Linked DNA regions of Homo sapiens: all the other regions are linked to region 3. The links are contacts of gene promoters, found by promoter capture Hi-C in blood cells and fetal thymus (Javierre and others, 2016). All regions are on one chromosome and are shown on one strand. The core of a region is centred on a gene start or on the middle of the fragment in contact, and the rest is flanking DNA. Distances in the headings are between cores, read along the strand shown.

Region 1 (2,904 bases), core at 338-2,837, 520 kb after region 3:
TGCCCTGCTCCCTCCCACATCCCCAAGCCTCGGCCACTTGCTGGCCTTGTCTCATGGCCCTCTTACCCTCTGCTTCCTCCCTGAATTCCTTCCTCCATCCTTGCATGGCAGAGCCCAGGATGGTGGACAGATACCAGGAACTCTTCCTCGGGGAGCAGTGGGCAGGTGGGACAGTCCCAGAGGGAGCCCCAGGTGGCTCATGGTGCAGGTTTGCTGGGTGAGAGACAGACACCAGACGCCCAGGCTCTGGGGGCAACCCTTGTGTCAGGTATCCCACCCAAGCGGCGCAGACCACTGGGCCTCTGACTTGGCCCCCTGGAGGTGGGCCCTTCCTGGGGTTACAAAGTCTGAGCTGGGAGGGAGCAGAGGTGCTCAGGCGAGAGGCAGGAATGGGGAGTCCCCTGTCTGAGGAGCGAGTGCCCTCATGCAGGGGGAGAGAGTCCTTCTCTTGGTCAGCCCCAAGAGGCAGGGATGAAGCCCGAGTTTTGGCTGCAGACTCTGTCCTGAGCACTGGGCCGAACCTGCTGCCTCTGTCTGCATCTCCTCCCACCCCCTCCCCTGCTGCCAGCTGAACTCACTCTGGCTGAAAATAAAAATGCTCCCCCAACCCCAATACTTAGCAGCCTCAGGAAGGTAACTCACAAGAGTCTGTCTTTCACAAAAGGGTTATTATCAACTGTGGGCCTCTGGAATGGGGGAGGGGCAGTTGTCGGAGGAACTTCTGGCTAGGAAGGGGTCGGGGTGGCAGTCACCTGCACTCTCCTGTGAGTGTCCAGGAGAAAGGGGTCTGTGTCCCACTTACTCATTCCATACCCGGGCCATCTGCCTCCCAGTGGACTTCGGACTGGGTGTCCGGGCTGACCAAGTCCACCCAGCAGGGAGGGCTCTGGGCTGTCAGCTGTCACAGCCCACCCTAGACACCGCTCCTCCTCTGTCTGGTGTCTGCTCCCAGCTCAAGGTGGGAGCCAGGCAAGGTGTGCCCCTCTTCTCCCACTCCCCAGCAAAGTCCCCCTTTTGTGAGTGTAGCTGCCAGTACCTAGGTGAATGGTTGACTCCCCTCGGAGCCTTCCTGCTCCTTGGAGGCCCACCTCCAACTGACCTCCTGTCCTGGCATCCTCCCGCACTTCCCCCAGAGGCACAAGGTCTTGGGATTGGGCCTTTTAGGTCACTCTTGGCCGCCCCCTCCACGCCCCCCAGAGTGGGGCAGCCTGAAAGTCAACCTAAGCCACCCCCGCCCCGCGCGCGGAGGCAGAAGTCCGGGATTCGTCCCTGACCTGTCTCGGGCCCCTTCTGCTAGGGTCACGGCAGAGCGAGCCCAGAAGCGCCGGGTCACTTTACAGACGGGGAAACTGAGGCCAGAGAGGGCGTGGCCCCGGGACGGGCTGGCTGGTGGCCGGGCTCCGTTAGCGGCCCAGCCCAGGCCCCAGGTCGTCGGGAGCTGCCCCTCAGCCCGGCCGCGCGCTCCCCGAGCGCGCTCCGCCCTCGCCGCCGGCCGCGCGGTGGGGACGCCCCGGGCGGCGGAGGCGGATGTGGGCGGGCGGCTCCGGGCGCGGGGCGGGCGCGGGGCGGGGAGAGGGCGGGCCGGCGGCGGCGGCAGGACCGAGCGCGGCAGGCGGCTGGCCCAGCGCACGCAGCGCGGCCCGAAGACGGGAGCAGGCGGCCGAGCACCGAGCGCTGGGCACCGGGCACCGAGCGGCGGCGGCACGCGAGGCCCGGCCCCGAGCAGCGCCCCCGCCCGCCGCGGCCTCCAGCCCGGCCCCGCCCAGCGCCGGCCCGCGGGGATGCGGAGCGGCGGGCGCCGGAGGCCGCGGCCCGGCTAGGCCCGCGCTCGCGCCCGGACGCGGCGGCCCGGTGAGTCCCCGCCCGCCGTGGCCGCCCGGGCCTGGATTTCCTCCCCGCGGGCCGGGCCGCTTTGTTCGCGGCCGGTCGGGCCGGGGCGCGAGCCGCGGCGCCGCCAGAATGGAGGAGCGGGAGCAGGAAGTGGCCGAGCGGGCCTGGGCGGGGAGGGCGCGGGGCGCGCGGGCCCGGCCAAGGGAGGGCGGCCCCACGCCGGGCGCCGGGGGTGCAGGCTGCCGGCCCCAGCCTCCCTCATGACCTTGGGGAGGCCGCTCCGCCGGGCGAGGCCGGGACCCGAGAGAAGGGACGCCGCCGGGCCTGGAGCTGGGGCTCGGGGTGCCCCTGCGGGCCGTGGGGCTCCCCGGGCGCTGGGCCAGCGAGGCAGCCGGCGGAGGTGCCCCGGGGTTGGAGAAAGACTCGCCGCGGCCGGCCTTCAAGTTTGTGGGAGGGCCCCGGAAGGAGACTTCGTTTCCCACGGACGAAAAGTTGTACGTGGTGGCGGGGTACCCAGGCTAGCCACAAAGGACTGTGACCCTCCTGGGCCCCGGAACTGCTTCCTGTCTTGGGTGGGCCCTGGAGGTCCTGCCCGCCCATCCCAGAGGCCAAGGCTTGGAGGGCAGCTGGGGCTTGCCCCTTAGATTGAGTATCCTGGGGCGCTAGCGAGCTTGGTCCTGTCGGGACGGCCTCTGAGTGCTGCCTTGGTCAGCGGGTGAGCTTGGGCCCCTGCTCTGCAGCCAGAGGCCGCCCCACATTCACTCCTGGGTCTCTCGGCCTTGCTCCAGGTGGCCACTTCTTGACTGCTTTGAGTCCCTCATCCGAGCGAAGGGCGGACGGAGTCCGTTGGTGGGGGTCCGGTTGCCTCTCCCGGGAGCTGTGTAGACTTCTCATACACCAGGGTTCTGGAGGCAGATGGAGGAGCCCTTTCGAAAACAGAGTATTTTTTTTTAAGTTGTGACTTAATAATAGTAGCAAGAATATGTGCTTATGGTAAAGGCAGGCGGCAGGTACGGAGGCTGTGGGAAGTCGGGGTCCCTCCGCCCCCACAGGCAGCCCTGTGCTGGCCTGGTG
Region 2 (2,797 bases), core at 41-2,540, 540 kb after region 3:
CGGCGGGGCTCAGAGACTGAAGGAAGGACTGTAGGAGTGGACGATGGTGGGGGTTTGACCTGACGCCGGGCCAGATGCCCTGTGTGGCTGCCTCAGCCTGGAGTAGAGTGTCTGAGCTGGAACAGGGGTCCTAGCCCCACTCTGTGAGGCGAGAAACTGAGGCTTGGAGAGAGGAAGAGATGGGGCTTCCCAGGACCTGGTGGGTGGTATGCAAGGGGAGCTGGCTGGTGCAGCGGGGGCTGTGGTGAGGGCCCTGGGAGGGGCAGGGGGATGCACGCAGACAGAGGCTCTGCCTGCCCGCAGAGTGCCAGCTGATGAAGACGGAGCGGCCCCGGCCCAACACCTTCATCATCCGCTGCCTGCAGTGGACCACTGTCATCGAACGCACCTTCCATGTGGAGACTCCTGAGGAGCGGTACGTGGGCTGTGGCGGCCAGGCCAGGCACTTGGGCAGCCCCAGCGCTTAGGAGGGACACGGGGATGGCGGGGTGCTGGCACCTCTGCCTGTAGCCATCCTCACTCCCCAGTGCTCCCAGGCCCTCCTCAGAGCCCAGTTTGGAAACTGGCCCAGTCCTGCCTGTGGGGTTTGGGTGGGGAAACTGAGGCTGGAGATAAAAACTGGCTAGGGACCGGGTGCAGTGGCTCACGTCTATAATCTCGGCACTTTGGGAGGCCGAGGTGCGCAGATCACTTGAGACCAGGAGTTTGAGACTAGCCTGCCAACATGGTGAAACCCCCGTCTCTACTAAAAATATAAAACTTAGCTGGGTGTGGTGGTGCACACCTGTAATCCCGGCTACTTGGGAGGCTGAGGCACAAGAATCGCTTGAACCCGAGAGGCAGAGGCTGCAGGAGCCGAGATTTTACCACTGCACTCCAGCCAGGGCGATAGAGCAAGACTCCGTCTCAAAAAAAGAAAAACCCGGTGGAGAGGGCCAGTCCTCCTTGGGGGGCGGAGTCCTGCTTGGGAGGCGGAGTCCTGCTTGGGGGGGGCGGAGTCCTGCTGGGGGGCGGAGTCCTGCTGGGGGTTGGAGTCCGGTTGTGGGGACAGAGTCCTGCTGGGGGGCTAAGCCTGGGTGTCCCCCACGTCCAAGAGGGCTTCGTGACCCTGAGTGTATGTGGCCAGACCAGGTCAAGTGGTGGCCTCCTCAGGGCTGTCTCTGGGAACCCCGACAGCTGTGGAACCACGCTTGTGAGGCTGGCGGGTGGGTGAAAGACGTGGGGTGGAGCTCCTGATCTGGTACAGGCCTGCAGCCTCACCTGACCTCCTGCAGGGAGGAGTGGACAACCGCCATCCAGACTGTGGCTGACGGCCTCAAGAAGCAGGAGGAGGAGGAGATGGACTTCCGGTCGGGCTCACCCAGTGACAACTCAGGGGCTGAAGAGATGGAGGTGTCCCTGGCCAAGCCCAAGCACCGCGTGGTGAGGCCTGTCCCCACTTCTGCCTGTGCCTGGGGCTGCCTTGGACTGTGGAGGGCTGGGTGGGTCATGGGGTCCCAGCTCGGCCCAGGAGACACTCAGCACTCCACGGCATCTCCACCTAGGCCGGTTTTCCATGTAGGGCGCAGCTGCTTCCCAGGTGGGTCCTCTTCCCCATGTCAGAGGAAAACTGGGGTTGCTGAGCCCTGCCAGGCTTGGGCAATGTTACCCCACCCTTCCCTGAACCCCATGCTCTGAGCTGGGGCCGCAGCCATGTGTTCCCTGTAAGCCTGGACTCCCCGCTGAGCCCAGTAGGCCACCAGGTGTGAAGTGGACGCCTCTCCTGGCTCTGCCTCCGACTCTGGGGCCCCTCATGCCACCCCACGCATGCCGACCAGCTGGGCACTGTTGGCAGCGCCGCTTGCTGACCCTGGTGCCTGCCCATAGACCATGAACGAGTTTGAGTACCTGAAGCTGCTGGGCAAGGGCACTTTCGGCAAGGTGATCCTGGTGAAGGAGAAGGCCACAGGCCGCTACTACGCCATGAAGATCCTCAAGAAGGAAGTCATCGTGGCCAAGGTGGGGCCGGGGCGGTGGGGCAGGGTGGAGATGAGGGTGCGGGGTGGCAGCTCACCCAGCCCTGCTTTACAGGACGAGGTGGCCCACACACTCACCGAGAACCGCGTCCTGCAGAACTCCAGGCACCCCTTCCTCACAGTGAGTGGGAGCCCAGATGGGGCTGAAGGGCTGGGGCCAGGTAGCGACTCCTGGGGCTGTCTCTAGGGGACGATGTCCTGTCTTCTTGGGCACGTGAGGGCTTTACACACCGTGGACTCCGCCGCTGGTGAGACAGGCCTGCCCTGGAGGGTCAGGCTGTGGAGGTGCCCAGTGTGGGCTAGGGGCTGTGCTCGCTGCTCCCGTGTGCGGGCAGGTGGGTGGGGCAGGTGGCCCTGGTCTTCCTTGCACTCTGCCGAGGCTCCAGGAGGCCCCAGCTCCCCATGCCCTGCAGCCCTGCCTGCCAGGCTTTTGTTGAGGCCCGGGCTCTGTCCTGCAGAACCTGTTCTGGGGACTTGGCCCAGGAGGTATTTACTGTGAAGGGGGCCAGGGTCCAGCCACTTGGTTAGTTCCAGGTCACTGTGTTTGGGGACGATTCTCCTGCAGATGGGGCCTTTGCTTTAAAAGCACAGTCGCCTGTGGTGGAAGGCGGGAGGGTGGGTCTCGCCTGGGAGGGTGTGTCCTCCCTTTGCGAAGGCCCTGGTGCTGGGAGCACTGTCCCCTGCTGAGGTCCCAACTCACCCTGGAGGACCTGAGCCCAGGCCACCTTGCTCACCTTTCAAACACTCCTTGGCACCTCAGGGGCTGCCGGGGCCCAGCCTGA
Region 3 (2,941 bases), core at 259-2,758:
ATGCTGACCCTTAGGTCTCATATGGACACTGGGTCCTTCGGGAGGCCCCGCCAGGTGCAAGAGTCGTGCCGGGTGGGCATCCTTCCTGTCCACTCAGCAAAACCAAAGCCCCGAGGTCCCAACCCTGCGCTCCAGGAGGGCAAGCCCCACTGTCCAGCGGCTCTGCAACTCCAACACCACGCTCAGAGATGCAGGCTGTGGGAGCCACAGGAAAGCACGGAGAGGCCCACCTGCAGCTGACTAGGGGTGGAACAACTCAATGCCACGTGGGGTCCCCTCCAGGCATACTGGCCACTTCCAGTGCCTGGAAGGTCCGCTCACCCTCCCATCTCCCCAGGGAGAACTCTCACTACCCCCAACCGCCTCCTCTTCTCGCCTGCTGTCTATTCTAGAACCAGAACTTTTCCGGAGAGCGTGTCTCTCTCCTCCTTAGCCTGGGAGCTTCCTGAGCAGGAACTACCAAGTCACGAAGAAATTACAAAAGTTTCAAACTGAGCAGGAGACTCAGGGAAGCTGCAAGTCCAAGGAAGGCTGGGCTATGGCCGGAGGGTAAACCCTGTCCAATCGTTACCGCTGGGCGACCGGGCGCCCCCCTACCAAGTGCAGAACAGCCAGTCTTCCGCAATGGCAAGATCAACTGGGAGGCGCAAATAGCAGTACTGGCTTGGCGACGCCTCTAAATGAGAGACAGCGCCAACCAGGTACCCGCGAGGACGACCCCGCCCCGCAGGACAGGGCATCTCCACCGCGCGCTGGACGGAGGATACAACCGAGTCCTGCGCGCCCCGTGCGCCGGGGGTCGCTCCCAGGCCGAGGTCTGACAGTGTCGCCGAACGCGAAAGGAAGCGTGTGGTACCCGAGAGAGGAAGCACCCTCGTCACCCCGGCCGGCACCGCATTGAGGCAGGTGTGCAGGTGCGGTTGCGGCGAGCCAGGTGAGCGCCGCCCGGGAGCCCCAAGGTCCCGCCGGGTCTGAGCAGCACCGGGTCCTCGGAAGCTGAGCGCGGCCCCCGGTGCTCGGGACCTGGGGGGCTGGGGCCGCGCTTGCCGGAGCTGCGGGGGGGCGGCGGCTGCACGCGTCGAACCGGCGGGCGGGGGCGCGGGGGGCGACCTGGGCTCCGCTGGGGGACCCGGGCCGGGGATGGGGCGCGCAGAGGCCGCGGCCAGGACACCCCCAGCAGGTGCCCGGCGGGAACAAAGCGCGGCGGGCGGCGCGTACCTGGGCACGCAGCTGGGGCTGGAGCCGTCCACCTCCCAGGTGGCGAACAGGTTCATGGGCACGGGCGTGTTGAGCGCGCCGGGCGCGCCGGGGAGGCCGAGGCGGCCTCGCTCGGCCATGGCGCCGGCCCCGCCGCTCCCTCGGCGGCCTGGGGCTGCGGCCGGGCCGCGGACGCGCGGCGGGCGGGCCGGGCGCGCGGAGGGCGGCGGCGCGGTCACATGGCTGCCGGGCGGCGGAGGGGACGGGCCGGGCCCCGGCGTCGGACAGGCCCGCGGGCGGCGACGAGCTGCGGCCGCTCCGCCCCGCCCCGCCCGGCGCCCCGCCCGCGCCCCGCGCGCCCCCGGCCGCCCCGCGCGCGCCCGGCGCCCTCCGACCCGCGCCGGCGCCGCCGATTGGCTGGGCGGGGCGCCAGCTCGCCGCCTCGGGTCCAATCGCCGCCGGCGCAGCGCGCGCCGGAAGTGAGGTGCGCGCGCGCTTCCTCCGGCGGCGCCTCACGGGGCGTCCCCGCCCGCCGGTGCGCGAGAGCGCGCACTCACGCGCCTGCGCACAGACCCCGCCCGGGGCGCCCCGCCCCGCCCCCCGGGAGCCGCGGGCAAGGGCCGGGAGAGTCGTGGGGGTCCACCGGGTCCCGGCCAGCTTCAGGCGCCGCCCCCTAAGGAAAGCTCATCGTCGCCCTGGCGATGCCCACCTCCCCACGCGCGGATTCCCCGGCCTCGACACTTTCCCGCCTCCACCCCGCCATGCCCCGAGTCTCCCCGCCCCCCTGCCCTCGCCGCCCCTTGTCTCCTGCCGACCCCCGCTGGGTTGGCCCGGCTGTGCGGGCCCCGCCCGTCCCCGAGCCCCTCCCTCGCGCCCCCCTGCGTGGGTTCCCCGGGACGCAGGGAGGTGGCAAGGAGGTGGCCGGGCCTGGCGGCGGTCGCGGGGACTCGAAGCCACTCGGGGCGCCAGGCTGCCGAGCTTAGCCTCCAGGGCTCCAGATGACCCCGGGCGCCCTCTTTGCGTCCCAGCATCCTTATTCAGCGCCGCTTTTCAGCGTTGTGCTCAGGACAATGGAGAACAAATGTCTGGGGCCAAGGCTGGCTCCTGGCCCTGGGGTTAACAGTGAACTTGGGGACCCAAGCAAAGAGGAGGCAATGGCTAGAGCCGCTGGGGCCCGACGTGTAGGCTCTGGGGCTCAGGGAGGGTGCTTCCCCCATCTGTTTGGCAGCGGCTGTGGTCCAGCACCAGATGCCAAGCCGAGATTTAGGAAACGGTTTTCTGGCCTCTCTTCTGTTTCCTTGTTTCACAGTTAGTTTACAGTTGCTTTTCTCTTCGCCCTGTGTCTTGTCTACAAGTAGTTTTACTGAAACAAATCCAGCCCGAGCAAATTGACCTGGAGCTGGTTTCTTTCCTGGCCCACGGGGCTTGCCACCCCAGTGCCCCGTCAGCTCCTTCTGCAAAGGCCCTCATGCCGCTGCTTCCTCCGTTGAGAGAGCTCAGCCTCCAGCTGTAACTCCTGTATCTAGAACTGCAAACAGCTGCGACTGCTTAAAGTCAGGGTCCCACTTCGGAGAGAACAAGGGACTCTGTGTTTCCCACGCGCCCCTGGCTCCTCTAAGGTGGTACACTGAGAGCCATGAGGGTCTGTCTGACCTTGGCCAGCTGCTCGGCGGGCAGAGGGCCGGTGGATCTCATACCTTTGAGACAGGGTAGGGGGAGAAGTGACTATGTCCAGAGAGGGGGT
Region 4 (3,132 bases), core at 578-3,077, 560 kb after region 3:
GGACAGATCCCTGTTTTCCCCCACTCCTGCGACGCCTGGTCCTGAAGTAGGAAATGGCAGGGGAGGGGGTAGGAGACTGCGGGTGCCACCAGCTGGGCTGCCTGGCCTGGGAATGCCACTTCTGGCTTGTGACCTGGAACAAGTCATTTATTTGTGAAAGAGGGCAGAGCCCACCTCCTGTGCTGTAGCTGCGATAAAAGAGTGTGTCCACAGTGGGGACAGTGGCCCACTCAGCTCAACGTGAACTCTGTGGGTATGGGAGGAAGCAGCAGCAGAAAGTAGGTAGAGGCCAGGAGGAAATGGGCGCAAGGGAGTCCCTCAAGGATGGTGTGCAGGGCAGGAGTGGGAGGCCAGCCACGCAGCGCTCTGGGACCCACCTCTCCGCTGAACCTGCCCATGGCTATGTTCACTTCTGCTTTGGTGAGAGGGCCACCAGACAATGAGAAAACCCTGCCCTTTTCAGTTTACTTCTAGGAAAGAAGATGAACTCAGCGGGTGAAAAGCAAAGACAGAGTATCCCACATTCATAGCTAGCCCTGCAGATGATTCCCAACCTGGATGGGGTGCGTTACCCCACTCCTGCCCATGCTGAAGCCATGGGAGCCGATCACTGGCACGCGGCGCTTCTCCCTGGTGCTGCCCCCCCTGCCCAGGGCTCTCCGTCTCCAATGAGTCTGGGCCTCTGCCCCGACTGAAGAAAGGCTCGAGAGAAAGGACTCGAGATGTAACATGTGGTTTCTATTTTAGATGGACAATTTCAGACATTGTTTGGACTAAGCTTGCTTTGGGTCTATGGAGCCAGTTCCACATGTGTCTGGATGAAGTCATCTTTCTCACGGGGCAGGGCAAACAGGCTCCACACTGTCCACTCCCATCCACCAGGTGAGTAGCCCCTAGGGTGAGAACGCCCCTCCCCACCTTAGGAGTAAGGACGGGATCCAGCCAGCTGCAGCAAACCCACCCACAAATGGGAGACTACACAAACACTCCACTTCCTGCCTGAGAGGGTCTACAACCAAACGGCACGCATGACTGTGGTGAAGCTGCGGTGTGCACCTGTGTCACCAACCAGGGGCTCCTCGGACGGGGGGAGGGGGGGCTCAAAGACCAGAGGAGGAGGAGGTGGGGGTGCTCAAAGATCAGAACAGGAAGTGGCTGAAGACAGGGACTAGAGCCGGATACAGAGCAGGTCATCTGTGAGGTTCAGCTTTCCCTTAGAGAGGATTACTAACCACTAAAGTTGGGCCAAGCATCTATTGCCACCATGTCCCGTTAGGCAATGCCAGATGGCACTGCATCAGGGGCCACACGTGTGTGTTCTGGGCCCACATGGGTGACCCACCCGTCCCCCATCACGGCTTGCTGGGGCTATGGGATCTCAGCAGCTCCAGGGACTGAAGTACTTACTCCACGAGGCCACACAGGGTACAGGCCACGGAGCCGCAGCCCCAGCAGGTGCGCACACACTGCCCGCACAGGGCTCGCTCACACTGACCGCAGACCGCCTTCCCATCCACGGCTCGCACGCATGAGGAACAGGCAATGGACGCTACCCCAGATGGGTCTGTGAGGAAGAAACGCCAAGCCGTCAGGCTGCAAGGAGACTGGAGTTTCCGGGACTGCCGGGCTACCTGCCTCCATGCATACCTGAGGGCAGAGGGCTCTGACCTGCCTACCCCATCCCCACCTACACTGGATCCTTCTGACAACCCGTGAGCCTGGTACAGTGCACAGGACCCCCGTTTTACTACAGAGATCCAAGGTGAGATATGCCTGTAGTTGACTCCAAGTTCAGTGCTCTTTCCCTTACCAGGTCCCTCTGCTACCTGGAGGCTAGTGCTGGAAGGACCATTCTTCCCCTGTTGCTTGTCAGAACTCCATGTGTCCCATCTGGGTCTCAGTGTGGCCCACTGCCTTACTGGTTAACAAAGAGGTGCCTGGGCTCCTCCTAGACACACCAACCAGACTTGAGGTAGAGTCGGGGATTGCATTTCTAACCAGCAACACAGGTGATGCTCTGAGACCCCACACTGCATAGGGATGGGACTGGCATGTTTCCAGCCTTGTGGGACTATCTGAGGGGGCTGCAGGCGGAAAGCAGACGGGATACCCGGGGAGTCTCTGCTGCTTTTTTGGCCCAGTACTTAGAAGCTGTTTAACAACTTCCAGTCTTGAATGTGAGACCTCCTGATAACAGGAGCCTTCTGAGCCAGAAGGCCAAGCTCTGGGTCAGAGTCCTGCTTACCCAGGGAGGAAAAGCCTGACCTTGCAAATCAAGAAAAATGCTCGTGCCACCACCTGCCCTCAGTGCCACAGCCACAAAGGGCTGCTGGTGCCACTCACCAGCTTCGGAGGCCTGCCCAAGGCTCCTGATCAGGCGGCCGTCTGGTCCAATCAGCATCTGCCCACGTGCAGCCCTCGGGGCCCCTGTAGGGCCAGGCTTTGGGGACTCTGGCAGGTGAACGACGGCACAGCCTTCATCCCACACGTGGTCCAGGTAGGCCTGGGCCCCGAGGAACAGGAGTCGCTTGGTCTTCTCTGGGGGAAGATAAATCATTCTCACGTCCTTCACTGTGTACCAACGAAGCCCCTGCATGGCCATTGAGTCTTTCTAGCCTCACATGAACCCCATCGTCCTCCTGTGTGCCCTCTGTCTCCCAGTAACCCCAGCCTGTGTTGTGCCCTGGCGAGCTGGGTCCTGCTCTGCCTCTATGCTGAGAATGCTTGTGCGTCCTTTCCTTACCTGGCTTAGCTGTCATCTCCTCCAGGAAGGCTCTGGCCCTGCAGCCCCACCTGTGTCTGATGCAAGGGTTCCCTCTCCTATCACTCGGCTCATTTTCTGCAATTCACGGCTGGCCTCGCCTCACTAAGCTTGTCCCCTTTCTCCCTTTTCTGCTTCCCCAGCACTCCCCACCTGGAAACCAGGCTCTGTGGAATGCACAGAGGGAGCTCTGCACTGTGGAGCACTAATTCACAAAACTCGTCCCCTGCCAAGGAAGCAGCCAGAGGCTTGGAGCTGGGCCTACAGCCTCTGGCCAGAGCACACCCCCTTCACCTGCTACAGAGTTGCTGGCAAGACAAGCATCCCAGAACCTTCCAGACCTCTTGTTCTAGAACACCCACCCATCCCTG

The links. The method cuts DNA at HindIII sites, captures the fragments that hold promoters and counts their contacts. A CHiCAGO score of 5 or more calls a contact.
Region 1: a contact is called between the fragment with the promoter of AKT1 here and the fragment with the promoter of PACS2 in region 3, in 2 of 17 cell types (neutrophils and monocytes). The highest score is 6.5, in neutrophils.
Region 2: a contact is called between a fragment that was not itself captured here and the fragment with the promoter of PACS2 in region 3, in 1 of 17 cell types (monocytes). The highest score is 5.5, in monocytes.
Region 4: a contact is called between a fragment that was not itself captured here and the fragment with the promoter of PACS2 in region 3, in 4 of 17 cell types (neutrophils, fetal thymus, monocytes and 1 more). The highest score is 8.1, in neutrophils.

Annotation. Positions count from the first base shown.
Region 1 is chr14:104,794,431-104,797,334 of GRCh38, reverse strand. It overlaps AKT1 (AKT serine/threonine kinase 1), which reads left to right and starts at 1,587. Exons shown (of 15, transcript NM_001382430.1): 1 at 1,587-1,851. RefSeq lists enhancers at 1-438, 2,480-2,904 and silencers at 1,276-1,635, 1,816-1,865, 1,896-2,215. The HindIII fragment of the contact is 18,918 bases long and covers 1-2,904 here.
Region 2 is chr14:104,774,277-104,777,073 of GRCh38, reverse strand. It overlaps AKT1 (AKT serine/threonine kinase 1), which reads left to right. Exons shown (of 15, transcript NM_001382430.1): 5 at 304-415; 6 at 1,275-1,422; 7 at 1,867-1,998; 8 at 2,071-2,136. Among named protein-coding and RNA genes, the nearest start is that of AKT1, 20 kb to the left of the region's middle. The HindIII fragment of the contact is 5,609 bases long and covers 1-2,797 here.
Region 3 is chr14:105,313,315-105,316,255 of GRCh38, reverse strand. PACS2 (phosphofurin acidic cluster sorting protein 2) reads right to left here and starts at 1,508. Exons shown (of 25, transcript NM_001100913.3): 1 at 1,219-1,508. The coding sequence starts at 1,337. It also overlaps a transcript of BRF1 not described here. RefSeq lists silencers at 887-966, 1,197-1,286, 1,427-1,956, 2,057-2,146 and an enhancer at 491-1,142. The HindIII fragment of the contact is 4,816 bases long and covers 1-2,941 here.
Region 4 is chr14:104,755,036-104,758,167 of GRCh38, reverse strand. It overlaps SIVA1 (SIVA1 apoptosis inducing factor), which reads right to left. Exons shown (of 4, transcript NM_006427.4): 2 at 2,344-2,538; 3 at 1,408-1,564. It overlaps LOC107987209 (a long non-coding RNA gene), which reads left to right. Exons shown (of 3, transcript XR_001750915.3): 2 at 748-1,762. Among named protein-coding and RNA genes, the nearest start is that of SIVA1, 3.5 kb to the right of the region's middle. The HindIII fragment of the contact is 2,093 bases long and covers 781-2,873 here.